5 separate regions of the Homo sapiens genome follow, and regions 2, 3, 4 and 5 are each linked to region 1. The links are contacts of gene promoters, found by promoter capture Hi-C in human tissues and cell types (Jung and others, 2019). All regions are on one chromosome and are shown on one strand. Each heading gives the region's core, a stretch centred on a gene start or on the middle of the fragment in contact. The rest is flanking DNA. Distances are from core to core; before and after follow the strand shown.

Evidence for each region. The method cuts DNA at HindIII sites, captures the fragments that hold promoters and counts their contacts. A contact is called where the count stands out against the background at its distance.
Region 2: a fragment that was not itself captured here is called in contact with the fragment with the promoter of COL6A2 in region 1 in 2 of the 25 tissues and cell types used here (liver and lymphoblastoid cells).
Region 3: a fragment that was not itself captured here is called in contact with the fragment with the promoter of COL6A2 in region 1 in 3 of the 25 tissues and cell types used here (mesenchymal stem cells, spleen and thymus).
Region 4: a fragment that was not itself captured here is called in contact with the fragment with the promoter of COL6A2 in region 1 in 2 of the 25 tissues and cell types used here (mesenchymal stem cells and mesendoderm cells).
Region 5: a fragment that was not itself captured here is called in contact with the fragment with the promoter of COL6A2 in region 1 in 2 of the 25 tissues and cell types used here (heart left ventricle and mesenchymal stem cells).

The regions. Positions count from the first base shown.
Region 1 is chr21:46,096,770-46,099,522 of GRCh38, forward strand. It overlaps COL6A2 (collagen type VI alpha 2 chain), which reads left to right and starts at 1,343. Exons shown (of 28, transcript NM_001849.4): 1 at 1,343-1,404. COL6A2-DT (COL6A2 divergent transcript) reads right to left here and starts at 876. Exons shown (of 2, transcript NR_186433.1): 1 at 703-876. RefSeq lists an enhancer at 1,166-1,460. The HindIII fragment of the contact is 26,496 bases long and covers 1-2,753 here.
Region 2 is chr21:45,842,765-45,845,517 of GRCh38, forward strand. The region is part of intron 4 of PCBP3 (poly(rC) binding protein 3); the gene reads left to right. Among named protein-coding and RNA genes, the nearest start is that of PCBP3-AS1, 7.7 kb to the left of the region's middle. The HindIII fragment of the contact is 8,875 bases long and covers 1-2,753 here.
Region 3 is chr21:45,881,510-45,884,262 of GRCh38, forward strand. All of the region lies in intron 5 of PCBP3 (poly(rC) binding protein 3), which reads left to right. Among named protein-coding and RNA genes, the nearest start is that of PCBP3-AS1, 46 kb to the left of the region's middle. The HindIII fragment of the contact is 4,995 bases long and covers 1-2,753 here.
Region 4 is chr21:45,948,386-45,951,138 of GRCh38, forward strand. No RefSeq gene overlaps it. Among named protein-coding and RNA genes, the nearest start is that of COL6A1, 32 kb to the right of the region's middle. The HindIII fragment of the contact is 4,709 bases long and covers 1-2,753 here.
Region 5 is chr21:46,235,634-46,238,386 of GRCh38, forward strand. It overlaps MCM3AP (minichromosome maintenance complex component 3 associated protein), which reads right to left. Exons shown (of 28, transcript NM_003906.5): 27 at 1,196-1,346. The region is part of intron 2 of MCM3AP-AS1 (MCM3AP antisense RNA 1); the gene reads left to right. Among named protein-coding and RNA genes, the nearest start is that of MCM3AP-AS1, 7.8 kb to the left of the region's middle. The HindIII fragment of the contact is 5,213 bases long and covers 1-2,753 here.

The DNA of each region.
Region 1 (2,753 bases), core at 93-2,592:
TCTGGTCTTGTGAGGAGGGGCCTGGCTTCCCCCTGGGAGCTGCTGGCTTGGAAGCAGGAGGCATTGCCCAGGTGAGAGTTCGGCATGGACCCAGGGGAGTGGCACACGGTGCCCGCCGTCAGCTGTGCTCAGGAGCAGCAGGCAGGAGCCCTGGACTCATGGCTACCATGTGGCTGCCACACTCAGGCACACTTAGGCACATACACTCACACTCAGGCACACTTAGACACACACATTCACACTCAACCTCAGACGCAGACACACACCACACACTCACAGATGCACACAGTCTCAGACACAGACACACACCACACACAGATACACACACCACAGACTCAAACTCAGTCTCAGACACAGACACACACCACACACTCAGATGCACACACCACACACACTCAGTCTCAGACACACACACACACCACATTTGCAAACCTGCTCATCAGAAGAGGGACCTCGCCCCCAGCCGCTCCGCCACCTTCCAGGACAGCTCTGAAGGGAGCCCTGTCCCGGAGCCCAGGGACCTCTCCCCAACCCGGCTGCGCCTCACCTCAAGGAGGAACCCCGGCCCTGGCTGGGGGACTGTGACCAGGGTGGGGAGTGGGGACCCCAGACAGAGCCCTACCAGGGACCCCTGTCACTCTGTCCCCGGCTGGGCTCAGGTGGGGACCTCACGGTGGTCCCAGGGCCCAGCACCAAGCCCACCTGTGGTTTCCAGCGGGAAAGGGGTGGCAGGGGTGGCTCGCCGCATGCCCAGGCTCTGCCCCAACCTCCGCGCCCAGGCTCTGCTGTCCCTGCCCTCCCGGCTCCCCACCCTCAGGCCCCAGGAGCGGCAGTTTCTGCAGGAGCTCCTGACCCGGGGCCTCTCGCGGGAGGCCTGAGCAAGCCGGACACAGGACACGGGGTAGGGGAGGGGTCGGGGGGCTGATGGGGGGAACCCTGCACCCCCCAGGGCAGCTGCTACCAAGGGGCGAGTCCCAGGGCCCCCGTCGGCCCTGCGTGCGGGGCGCGGTCCCCAACACCCAGGGCCCCGGAGGCGGACACAGCCCCAGCCAGGTCGTCCGGGAAATGGGGCGGGGGCGACGGGCGGCCGGGCCCGGGACGCGAAGTCCGAGCAGCAGCGGGCAGGGGCTGGCGGGGGAGCTCGGCCCGGGCTGCAGGGGGGTCCCCACCCTCTCCACCTCCTCCAGCCTCCCGCCCTCGAGGGTCCCCGCTTCCCTCCCATCCCCCTCCCGTGCCCCCGGCCCCCTCCTCCCATCCGCGGGGCCGCAGCGCTTCCTGGCGGCGGGGCGGGTCAGGCCGGCGGGGCGGGGTATAAAGGGGGCGGCGCCGGCCGCGGTTCCCTCCCTGCTGCTTACTCGGCGCCCGCGCCTCGGGCCGTCGGGAGCGGAGCCTCCTCGGGACCAGGTGAGCGCCTCCCGGACCCCGCACCCTGGAAGCCGCTCGGCCCGCGGGGGGTGACCCCGAGTCCTGGGAAGGCGGCGGCGGCGGCTCCGTCCCTCGGGTCCCCGGGAAGGGGGACTCCAGCCCCAGGGACGGCGGGGGGCTCGGCGGGTTCGGGGCTCCTCCTCGCGGGGCTGGGGCCGCGCCTGCCCCTGTGGCTCCGCGTCTCTGGGTCCGACCCTCGGGCGCGCGACTTGGGGCCACCTCCCCGCGGCCTCCTCTGGGGCGGAGCCGGCCTGGGCGGGGTGGGGGGGTCCCTGTCTGCGCCCGAGCTCGGTGCTGGGACCCCCGCTCCCGAGACGACCCCGGCACCGCACGCCCCGCCAGGCCCCGCGTCTGCGAGCGGTTCGGGTCCGGCTCCGGCCCGCGGGGAAGACGCCCCGGCTGGCTGGGACCTCCGGGGGCGCAGGGCCTCTCCCCGGGCCGGACGGAAGGGGCGGCGGGGCGGGGGGAGGAGGGGCTTTCGGTGCCCGAGGGCGGGACTGGGCGGGGAGGGGACGCGGGTGGCCCCGACGCCCCATCGCTGCGCCCCTCCCGGCCTGGAGCCCACCAGGGCCCCGCCAGGCCCAGGAGAAGCTGCAGACGGAGGCGGCTCCCCAGGGCGGCGGGACCCGGGCTGACAGCGACCCGCAGCCCCTGCCGGGCCGCCCACACCCGCCCTGGGACTCCGCCGGGGCGCTGGTGGAACCGCTGGGCCTGGGTCTCCACTGCTGGCAACCGAACGGATCGGCCCTCTGTGGAGCCGCAGGTGTGCGGGCGAGCGGCGCCCATCCGGGCTGTGCCAGCAGAACCCCGGTGCCCGCGCCTAGGACGCCCCTGGAGAAGGGACCTTCCCTTTGGGGTCGGAACCCAGAAAGGAGGGGCCTGCGATCCGCGGAGCTCCTTGTTCTTGGGATAACACAGCTCTGGCTTGGAGGCCCCCTTGCACTTCGACTCTGGTGATTATTTCAAGAAAGGCCAGACCGGGCACGGTGGCTCACGCCTGTAATCCCAACACTTGGGGAGGCCGAGGCGGGCAGATCACCTGAGGTCAGGAGTTCGAGACCAGCCTGGCCAACAGGGTGAAACCCCGTCTCTACTAAAAATACAAAAAAAAATTAGCCGGGCGTGGTGGCAGGCACCTGTAATCCCAGCTAATCGGGAGGCTGAGGCAGGAGAAAATCACTTGAACCTGGGAGGCGGAGGCTGCAGTGAGCTGAGATCGCGCCACTGCACTCCAGCCTGGGTGAGGGAGCGAGACTGTCTCAAAAAAAAAAAAAAAAAAAAAAAAAAAGGAAAGAAAGGCCCGGTGAGATGCTTTCTCTTAAACACGG
Region 2 (2,753 bases), core at 163-2,662, 250 kb before region 1:
CACCACCGGTGGGGAGAAGGGTGCTTGGTACTGCTGGGTGGGAGTGGAAGCCGAGGCTCTCAGCTCAGCCCCTCTGACCGGGCAGGGTGCTGTGTGCGTCCTGTCCTGTGCATGGAGCAGGGCAGGTATTCTCAGATGCTTTCTGACCTAATAGGTTCCTCCTTTCCCATCCCTTTCCCTAGAGAGAATTTTCTTGAGACTGTTTTTTTCCAGTGTGTATCCTTTGGCATTTTTCAGTTGCTTTTCCAGTGCCCTGTCTGAAATATAGAGGAGGAAGCACAAACAAAACGAACAAACAAATAAGAAACCCAAAGAATAGCGAACTCACCGCTGTGTCATTCTCCAAATCCCAAGGGCCCAGCCAGTCCCCCTTCTTCCCTCCAGCTTTCAGGGTTCTCTTCTGTTTGTTCCACATGTAATGTCCAGAGTTGTTGGCTGTGCTCAGCAGGAAGAATAGGGAGAGAGGTGTCTATTCCATCCTGTCCAGAACCAGAAGGCATGGCTTCCTTTACGTGACTACTATCCCCTGTGCCTTCGCAGTTGTTTTTCTTGATTAATCTCATCAGAGGGTTGTATATTATTTAGACTTTAAGAACCAAATTTTATATTTACTGATCTTCTCAGTTGCCTTTGTTTCTTTGCTTAACTTCTGAACTTTTCTTTATTATTACCTTTCCACTTTCTGTGGATACTTTCTGTTCTTTTTCTAACTTTTTAAATGGGATTCGTGACTCACTAATTTTGTGTTTCTTTACTCCTTTTAAAAGCTATAAACTTTACTGTGAGTTCTGTTGCAGCTGTTTGCTACAAATTTTGGCATGCAATAATTTTATTATTGTTGAGGTCTGTTTTCTGATCTCATCTATTTCTTATCTGGAAACATTTAAAAAGTGTTTTGTCCAAGGGAATTGTAAAGTTATCTTTTGCTAATGATATTTAATTGCCTACTGAGTAGGAGATATGTTCTGTGGACTCCATGTTTTCAACATTTGTTGAAACCTGCAATATGAACTAAAACGTTATCAATTTTTGTTTTGTTCTCTGAGAGCCTTAGGAGAATGTGTTACCTCTGCTTGTCAGGTACAGGGTTTTATATACACACAGACACACATACGCACTATCATGTTGTTTGTGCTGTTAATATATTCTGCATCTTTATTACTTTTGTGGGGTATACTTGTGTGAACTGTAAAGGAGAGAGGTATGTTGGCATCTCCCACCAGTTGGGCGATTTGGGGCCTGTGACCTCTGACCTCACTGCTCCTTCTTGTAGCATTCTTCCTCCATTAATGCTCGTCTCTCTCCTTGACCTTCTTTCAGTCTTTCTTCTCAGTGTTTCTACCCAAAATTGCAGGCCCCAGCTCCAGCAGTCTGGTTGCGGACAAGGCCGTGCTTGTTTTTCATTGGGCTGGTCTGTCCAGCTCCAAGGCTGCCCTTTGAGCCGGACGATTGACCCACTGCATTAGGAAATGCTTTGCCGTCTTGGTGAGAGCCCCACTTTAGGGAGGTCTTGCACACTGCTGCATGGAGCATAGACACGTTGGGTGGGAGGTGCCCCAGCACCTAAGGACTCTTATGATTGGGTGGCAGGGGTGGGTGGTGCTGCCCTGCCCTCCAGAGCCCTTCACATGGTCCAGATGTCACCCAGCGCAAGGTGAGGGAGCCCTGGGGTCACATTCTCCACCCTCCCTCCAGCATTGTTGCAGCCGCAGGACACCTGCCAGGGTAGAATTCAGCGTGGCTGGAGGATTTTGTGTGGCAGAAGTAATGGAGATGGTAGGCAGGCTGGTCTCCCCGCTCCTCTGTGAGCACTGTGTGTTGGTGCTCCCTGCCAATGGTGCTCCCCGCGGCATGGTTCCACGCGCACCACAAGGGCAGCGTGGCTTCCTCATCTTAGATGTGACAGAATGGAGATAGTTCTGGGTGTTAGCCCACAAAAGTGGCAACGTTAGGGTCCAAACTCTGGTACATATGAAACCATGGTTCTTCTTTCTTCCTCTCCAGGCAGATTCATAAGAAGAAGACTGGGTCTGAGTTTATATACATATATATAAAGTTATATATAAACTTCATATACGTATATAAAGTTATAACTTTATATACGTATATGAAGTTTATATACGTATATAAAGTTTATATATATGCTTTATTTATATATATAGTTTACATATATATATGCTTTATTTAAGGTTGAACAAAATTTTGCATTCATCAGAAGCTTCCTTTTATGAATTCTTAGACTTTTTTACTGGGTACCCCAGAGATTTAAGGTATCAGCTTGAATATCTTCTAAACTGTTCTCCCTAAAAGGACCATACCTGGATTCTCAAGGAGTCCACCTCCGGAGGGGTCACTGACAGTTCTGCTCTCTTATGCCTTTTGTTCATCTTAACCAGCCTTGGTTAGCAAGGGGCACCTGCCACCAGATGATCTCTTACCAAGTCATGGTTTCCTGTCTGAAGCGGTTTCCCTGATGCTGAGAGGCATGAGGAGAATGTTACAGAGAGACAGCATGCTGCCTTGTGATTGTCTGAGGTTTGAAACCTTCTGGTGAAGCTGAAACCATTTCTTAAGAGCCTGGCTAATGCTGTGAGCTGCTTAAGCACCCGTGTGCACATGTGTGTAAGTGTGTGCCTTTGCCATGTGTATGCATGTGAGCTGCTTAAGCACCTGTGTCCACACGTGTGAGTGTGTGCCTTCACCTGTGTATGTGTGTGTGTGAGCTGCTTAAGCACCCGCGTGTACACGTTTGT
Region 3 (2,753 bases), core at 154-2,653, 220 kb before region 1:
ACTCCTAGACTCCAGTGACCTGCCTACCTCAGGCAACAGCCTAGGCAACATAGAGAGACCCCATCTCTATAAAGAATTTAAAATCACTCTCAGCAATTTTCAAGTATACATTGTTCTTACCCATAGTCACTGTGCCACACAGCAGCTCCCCAGCCTGTTTGACTCCCGTCTAACTGAACTTGTGCCAGTGACCAACAGCTCCCATTTCCCCCAACCCCCCGCAGTCCCCGACAGCCACCTCCCACCCTCTGCTTCTGTGAGATGCACTTTTTTAGATTCCACATGTGAGATCATGCAGTATTTGTCTTTCTGTGCCCAGTTCATTTTACTTGTTATAATGTCCTCCAGGTTCATCCGCAGTGACACAGATGACATGGCTTCTTTCTGTGTGTATGTCTGTGTGTGACATTTTCTTTATCCGTTCGTCTCTCTATGAACACTTAGGCTGATTCCACCATATCTAGGCTGTTGTGAGTTGTGCCACAATCAACACGGGCCTGCATGTGTCTCCTCACTATAGTGACTTTGGGTATATGCCCTGAAGTGAGACTGCTGGATCCTGTGGTGGTTCTATTTCTAGTTTTTTGAGGAACTTCCGTACCGTTCTCCATAATGACTGTACTAAGTTTCCCATCAGCACTGTACAAGGGTTCCCTTTTGTCCACCTCCTCACCAACACTTAGCTTTTGTCTTTTTGATAATAGCCATTCTAACAGGTATGAGCCGATATCCCATTGTGGTTTGAATTTGCATTTTTCTGGTGATTAGTGATGTTGTGCACTTTTTCATATACCTGTTAGCCATTTGTATGTCTCCTTCTGAGAAGCTTCCATTCCGTTTCTTTGCCATTTTTTTAAAATCTGGTATTTGTTTTCTTGCTATTGAGTTGTTTGAGTTCCTTACACATTTTGAGTATTAACTCCTTATCAGATGTTGTATGGTTTGCAGTTTTTTTTCCAGTTCCCTAGGTTGTCTCTTCACTCTGTTGTTTGCTGTGCAGAAGCTTTTCAGTTTGATATAATCCCATTTCTCTACTTTCTGCTTTTGTTGCCTGTACTTTGAGGGCCATATTTAAAAAAAAATCATTAACTAAACCAGTGTCGTGGAATTTTTCCCTGTGTTTTTTCTTAGTGGTTTTGCAGTTGCAGATCTTACATTTAAGTCTTTAACCCATTTTGAGTTGATTTTTATAGATGGTGTGAGATGAGGGTCTAATTTCATTCTTCTGCACAGGGACATCCAGTTTCCCCAACACCGTTTATTGAAGAAACTGTCCTTCCCCGTGTGTGTTCCTGGTGTCTTTATTGTAGATGGATTGGCTGCAGCTGCGGGGTTTCCTGCCAGGCTCTCCGCTCTCCTCCACCGGCCTGCATGTCGTTCTTACACCAGCGCCAAGTTCTGGTCTTTAGTATTTCATTCCTCTGCTTACTTGGATTTATTTTGTTCTTCTTTTATTAGATTCTTAAAATGAGTGCTTAGATTATTGATTGGAAGCTTTTCTCTCTTCAAATGTGTGTGTTTCGTGCCACAGGTTTCCCTCTCAGCACTGCTGTAGTTGTGTCCTGCGATTTTTGATATGCTGTGTTTTTATTTTCATTCAGGTCAATGTGTTTTTTGATGTTCCTTGAGATTCCCTCTTTGACCCTTGGATTGTTCATATATGTGTTTCATTTCCAAGTGCTTGGAACTTTTCTTGTTATCTTTCCATGATTGATTCTGGTTTGAGTCAGCTGTGGTCAGAGAACATACACTACGGTTTCAATTCTGTTAAATTTGCTGAGGTTTCTTTTATGGCCAAGGGTATGGTCTATCCTGGTATAGATTCTGTACATGCAGGAAGAGAGTGTGGATTCTGCTGATGCTGGACAGAGTGTTCCGGAAGTGTTCGTTAGGCCCCGTTGGTTGATGGTGTTGAGTCCTTCCAAATCCTTTGCTAATTCTCTGCCCAGTGGTTCTTTCAGTTGTTGACAGTAATAAAGTCTTCAGCTGTCGTTGTGGATTTTTATATTTTTCTTTTCACTACTATTAGTTTCTGCTTCACATATTTTACAGCTCTGTTATTTGATTCATACACATTTAGGATTGCTATTGCTTATTTAGACTCTTTTATCATTATGTAATGTCCTTCTCTGTCTCTGATCATTTTCATTGCTCTGACGTCTATTTTTTCCGATATTAATATAGCCATTCCTGCTTTCTTTTGATTAATGGTTGCACGATACGCCTTTTCCCATTAGTTTATCTTCAGTTTGCTTATATTGTTCTATTTGAAGTGAGTTTTCTGTAGACAGCATATGATGGGGTCATATTTTTAAATCCACTCTGCCCATCTGTGCTTCAATTGGTGTATTTGGACCATTTATACTTAAAGTTATTACGGTATTGAGATGTTAGGGCTTAAATCTGCCATTTCACCTTTTATTTATCTTTTGTATTTATTTATTTTGAGATAGGGCCCTACTCTGTCATCCAGGCTGGAGTGCAGTAGTGTGATCATGGCTCACTGCAGCCTCTTCTGGGCTGAAGTGATCCCCCCACCCCAGCCTCTCAAGCAGCTGGGACCACAGGCATGCACCACCATGCCCAGCCAATTTATTTTTATATTTTGTAGAGACTAGGTATTCCTGTGTTGCCCAGGCTGGCCTTGAACTCCTGGGCTCAAGTGATCCTCCCACCTTGACCGCCCAAAGTGCTGGGATTACAGGCGTGAGCCATCGCACCCAGCCTCATTTTTAATTTTGTTGGCTTTGTTT
Region 4 (2,753 bases), core at 136-2,635, 150 kb before region 1:
ATCCAGTCAGTGGTCACCTCTTGTTCCTGGTGGACATCACTTAGCACCAGTGCCGGCAGTTTTATAAAACAGAGGATAACGTCGCGGGACTGGCCGGCCTCAGAATTGCTCAGGGTTTGGACTCATGGAAATCCAAGGCACCCTGCAGCTCAGCCATGGGAGTTCACCTCCAACTCTGAGGATCTGAGGGAGGGAGGGAGGCCCTCTCCGGGGACCAATATTTGCCTCCACGTGGCTAAGGCCAGTGATGCAGGCTGTGCGGTGTGTTGACGGACTCGGGGAAGGTGGAGGAAGGAGGCCTGGGGGAGGGGCTCCTCTTACCCGGAGTTGCATGGGTGGATTTCAGGTTGACGGGGGCGGGGCTGCATTTTTAGGTGTTTCTACTGATAAGACCAAGGGTAGTTGGGAAAAAGCCCAGCACGTCAACAGCTCGACAGAGAGCAGCTCCCTGAGGTCGCCACCAGCTTCCCGTGGATGTTGATGATCTCATGTCCTCAGTCAACCCCGGAACCACAGAAGAGCACAGCGGGAGACCTGGGGAAAGGCAGACTCCACCGGGAGGTCGGGAAGCACAGTTCTCAGCCCTGCCCGGGCCCCCGTCCATCCTGCTTTGGAAGAGCACCTGGACTCTAGGATGAGGAGACGAGGCAGCGTGGAGACTCACCGCCTCCGGAGGACAGGGAGGGAGGAGCCGGTCGCCGCAGGCACGGCCTGGACGTGCTGGGAGCCGCACTTGGTGTTGGCCGTTGGGCTGATGCTTGTCAGGAGCCCAGGACAAGCTCCGTGGCTTACCTGGGATGATCTCATGTTTCTCTGAGGTAAAGGTTCATGATGAGTTTTCCTGCACCATGAAATACGTCAAATAACAATTTCCACTTTCAATCCTCGAACGCACAACGCTATAAAAATATATAAAAACTACTTTGACAGGAGTAAAAAACGTCATGCTAAAAGGATTAAGAAGAGGTTTGTTGGTTGATGAAAGGACGTGTGGCTGTGGCGAGACCTGAAACACACCCCACGTGGGCGTGTGCACTTCGCCCACTTCATGCCAAGTGCCGGCTGCTTTGTCGGCTTCGTTCAGCGTCACCCAGAGAATAACTTCTCTTTACCTCCCATGGGGATTGTCTTCTAATTTGGAGAAGTTGGATATACCTCTATTAAGTGCAGAGCTACACAGTAATAAAAAACACACTCTAGGACATTTTGAGAAAAGCAAATGTTCCAGCAGAAGCATCTGGGCCGGGCGCGGTGGCTCATGCCTGTCATCCCAGCACTTTGGGAGGCCAAGGTGGGCGGATCCCTTGAGCCCAGGAATTGGAGACCAGCCTGGCCGACGTGGCAAAACCCCGTCTCTACTAAAAATACAAAAATTAGCTGGGCGTGGTGGCGCATGCCAGTAGTCCCAGCTGCTCTCGAGGCTGAGGAGGTGGGAGGATCGCTTGAGCCCAGGAGGTTGAGGCTGCAGTGAGCCAAGATCGCGCCACTGCACTCCAGCCCGGGCGACAGAGACCCTGTCTCAAAAAAAAAGAAAAAGCAGCGCCTGGCTGTGAGGATTCCCGAAGGCAGCACCACCCCTGAGCAGACCCGTCTGCCCCTCCGACCGTCATGCACCAGCCCCTCCCGGTGCCCTGTGTCGTCACATGATGCTTGTTGAGGAGCCCAGGCGTCCACCCCCGCGCCTCCTGGCATGACGCCGACCTCACTCCTTGGCCCCCGGAATTCCCACAGGTGGGAGGTGGTCACAGAAGCTTTGTCGATTCCGTTCTCTTTTTGGCAAGGACACTTCCAGGTGCCTCTGCACGGGCACTGACCCACAGGTGGGCACAGGGCCATGCTCCCAGCCTGGGCCTGACGGGCCGGGGTGCAACCACCGCCAGCATCTACCATGCTGTGAGTGGGCGGCGGTGACGCACCCACCTGGGAATGGCAGCGAGTGCCCGGAGTGCCGGATTCCCCCCGAGCTTTCACGTCTAAGGATTACGAGGAAGACCTGGACTACGTGCCTTTATGAGATGCCTCCTGTGGGTCCCTGAGGCCGTCAGGTGCCACCTCACCCCTGCGTGTCCTGCGGAAACTGTGACCTGTGACTCCGGGGCGGGGTGGCCTTGGGGGCACCAGCAAGTGAAGGGTGCACCAGGGCACTGGGTTGGGGACCTTGCCCAGGACAACAGGCAGGGCTTGTCCAAAAGCCCCTGGCCCTGTTCCAACCCCCAGGAGGGTTCGAGCCCTTTCGAGGGTCCCATGCTGTGTCCAGAGCAGCCATGCACCCACCTTCTCCACCACAACACAGCCACCCTCCTTCTCCAGAGTGGCCTTTTACAAAGCACAATTACCATTACCTCCTGAGTGAAACCTGTCCTCGGGGCGGAGACTGCCCCAGGCCTGGCCTCGTACACACACCCCTCCTGCCCGCCTCCCTCCCTCCAGCCCTGTTGGCACTGCCCCGTGGCAGCCTCCCGCAGCGGCCGCCTCCGGCTCTGCCTCCTCCAGGGTGCTGTGGCTCCTCCTCAAGGGAGGGCGGCTGGGGGAGGAGACGCCTCAGTACAGAAAAGCTCGCAGCTGTTGTTGGGTCTGATCCCACCTCTCCTGCTGTTTCCTGCCAGGACAGATGAGGAGTTAGCTCTCCACTTCCCACCATGCCTGCCCCTCCTTCACAATCTTTGTTAATTATATTCTTACTCTGTTTCCATATTGAATAACTCACTTAAATTCTTACCATAAAAGATGACAAAGATACACAAAAGTACAGA
Region 5 (2,753 bases), core at 1-2,500, 140 kb after region 1:
TTTGTATTCTATCATGAACAATTTCCAGTGTCAGTCATTTTTCACCCAGGCTGGAACGCAGTGGTATGATCGGAGCTTACTGCAGCCTCAAACTCCTGGGCTCAAGTGATCCTACCAGCTCAGCCTCCTGAGTAGCTGGGACAACAGGCATGTAGCACCATGCCTGGCTAATTATGTACTGTAGAGATGAGATCTCTTTATGTTGCCCAGGCTGGACTCAAGCTCCTGGACTTAAGCGATCCTCCCTCATCAGCCTCCCAAAGTGCTGGGATTACAGGCATGAGCCACCACGCCCAGCCAGTCATTTTTAGAAAATATCATCGTCAAGGGCTGTGAATTATTCTATCACATGAATGTGTTATAATTGTTTAATCAGACTCCCATCTTCGGATATTTATTCTGTTTCGACTTTCATACAATAATGCTACAGTAAACATTTTTATACATTAATTTTTGGGGAATATCTGGTAGGTCAGAATTCTTTAGGTTAGAATTGGTAATTCAAAGGGTATGAATATTTTTAAAGTATTTGCCAAACTGATGAATGGAAACAGTACATCATTTTAATTTGCTTTTCTCCTCTATTGAAGGACTTCCTAAAGCCAGTCCAGGAGCACAGTTTTTACCTGTTCAGTGGCACATATCTGTGATTGAAACTCTGTTTTTGCATCTTTAACCACTGAAGGAAGAATGGTAAGGTAAAAAGACCTTAGGCTTTGGAGCCAGTTGGATCTGGCTTTGAAAAGCAACCTGACCACTCACTACTTGAACACTCTTGGGTGAGGCTCTTGACTTCTGGGAGCTTACCTTCCTCATTCATTAGTTTTCCTCAGGAAAAATTAATCCCAGAAGAGAGGTCTGGGTAATGCCAAAGCTCAGACAATATGTGCTCCAACAGAAGCTGCTGTCATCACCTTAATGCCCTTAATTACACATCAGCACACAGTTACAGGTCTTATTCAGTTCTTAAGAATATTTCAATTCTATTCTTCATTTATTTCGTAGGCAGAAACTCAAAATCAGTTGGGTCTCTTTAACAATGATATGGATAAAGTTTAAGAAAAGGTCTAATTTGAGCTAATAATTTGTCGGTCATCAAAACATCATAGGATAAATCGTGATATTACTTTTTTCCCCAGCCATTCTCTCAATCTTTAATTCTTATGTAAATGCCAAATGTATACGTTCTTCTCACCTGTGGGCTAGTAGTTACAGATGTTTTCATCACAGGTTCAATAGTGTGAGAAAGAGACACTAGAGTCTGAGGAAGATAGAGGGGAAGGGAAGTTAAATCCGTAAATGCTCCTGAGTCTTCAGACAACCATTGCTGAAGCTGATCTTCAAACCTGAAACAATATGTAATAAATTCAAAAATATTTGAGCATTAGGAAGTTAACTATTGTTCATTAATCTTCTATATATACTTAAAAACTTTTTAAGCCTTTGCTTTTTTAAAATTTTATATAATTTTTTTTTTTTTTTTTTTGAGACAGAGTCTCACTCTGTTGCCCAGGCTGGAGTGCAGTGGCATAATCTCGGGTCAGTGCAACCTCTGCCTCCCAGGTTCAAGTGATTCTCCTGCGTCAGCCTCCTGAGTAGCTGGGATTATAGGCAAGTGCCACTGTGCCCAGCTAATTTTTTGTACTTTTAGTAGAGATGGGGTTTCACCATATTGCCCAAGCTGGTCTTGAACTCCTGACCTCAGGTGATCCACCCACCTCGGCCTCCCAAAGTGCTGGGATTACAGGAGTGAGCCACTGTGCTTGGCCAATTTTATTATTATTTTTTTTTGACAAGGTCTCGCTCTGTTGGCCAGGCCGGAGTGCAGTGTTACAATCTTGGCTCACTGCAACCTTGACCTCCCAAGCTCAAATGATCTCACCTCAGCCTCCCAAATACCTGGGACTAGAGGCGCATGCCACCCAGCTAATTTTTGTATTTTTTTGTAGAAACGGGATTTTGCTGTATTGTCAGGCTAGTCTACAACTCCTGAACTCAAGTGATGTGCACACCTCAGCCTCCCAAAGTGCTGGGATTATAGGCATGAGTCACCACACCCAGCCTTAAGCCTTTGCTTTTTACTAAGAATATAACTAAGTTATGACATCAACTGAGAAGCAGAAATGTACTTATTAAAAATTTAACAACTTCCTATGATAAAGCTTAATTTAAAAAAAAAAACTAGGCTGGGCTCGGTGGCTCATGCCTGTAATCCCAACACTTTGGGAGGCCGAGGCGGGCAGATCACCTGAGGTCAGGAGTTCAAGATCAGCCTGATCAACATGGTGAAACCCCGTCTCTACTAAAAATACAAAAATTAGCCAGGCATGGTGACACGTGCCTGTAATCCCAGCTACTTGGGAGGCTGAGGCAGGAGAACTGCCTGAACCCGGGAGGCGGAGGTTGCAGTGAGCCAGATCACGCCATTGCACTCCAGCCAGGGCAACAAGAGCAAAACTCCATCTCAAAAAAAAAAAAAAAAAAATTAGAGAAACCACTTCCCTTTAATTTATAAATCCAATTCCAATTTATATTTAATGAAAAAGGTGGTATTAATCCAAAAACAACTGCTTCGATGTGTTACTTAACATTACTTGTAATTGTCTTGTTTGGCTTATCTTATTTAATTTACTTTGGTTTTATGCATCTATAATTAATTCTTCTGACATTTTCCAAATGAGTGGATTGCTGCTTATAGCTTAAAATTAACTCAAAATAATATCCCACTGCCACCTAACATACTCTAGAGCTGT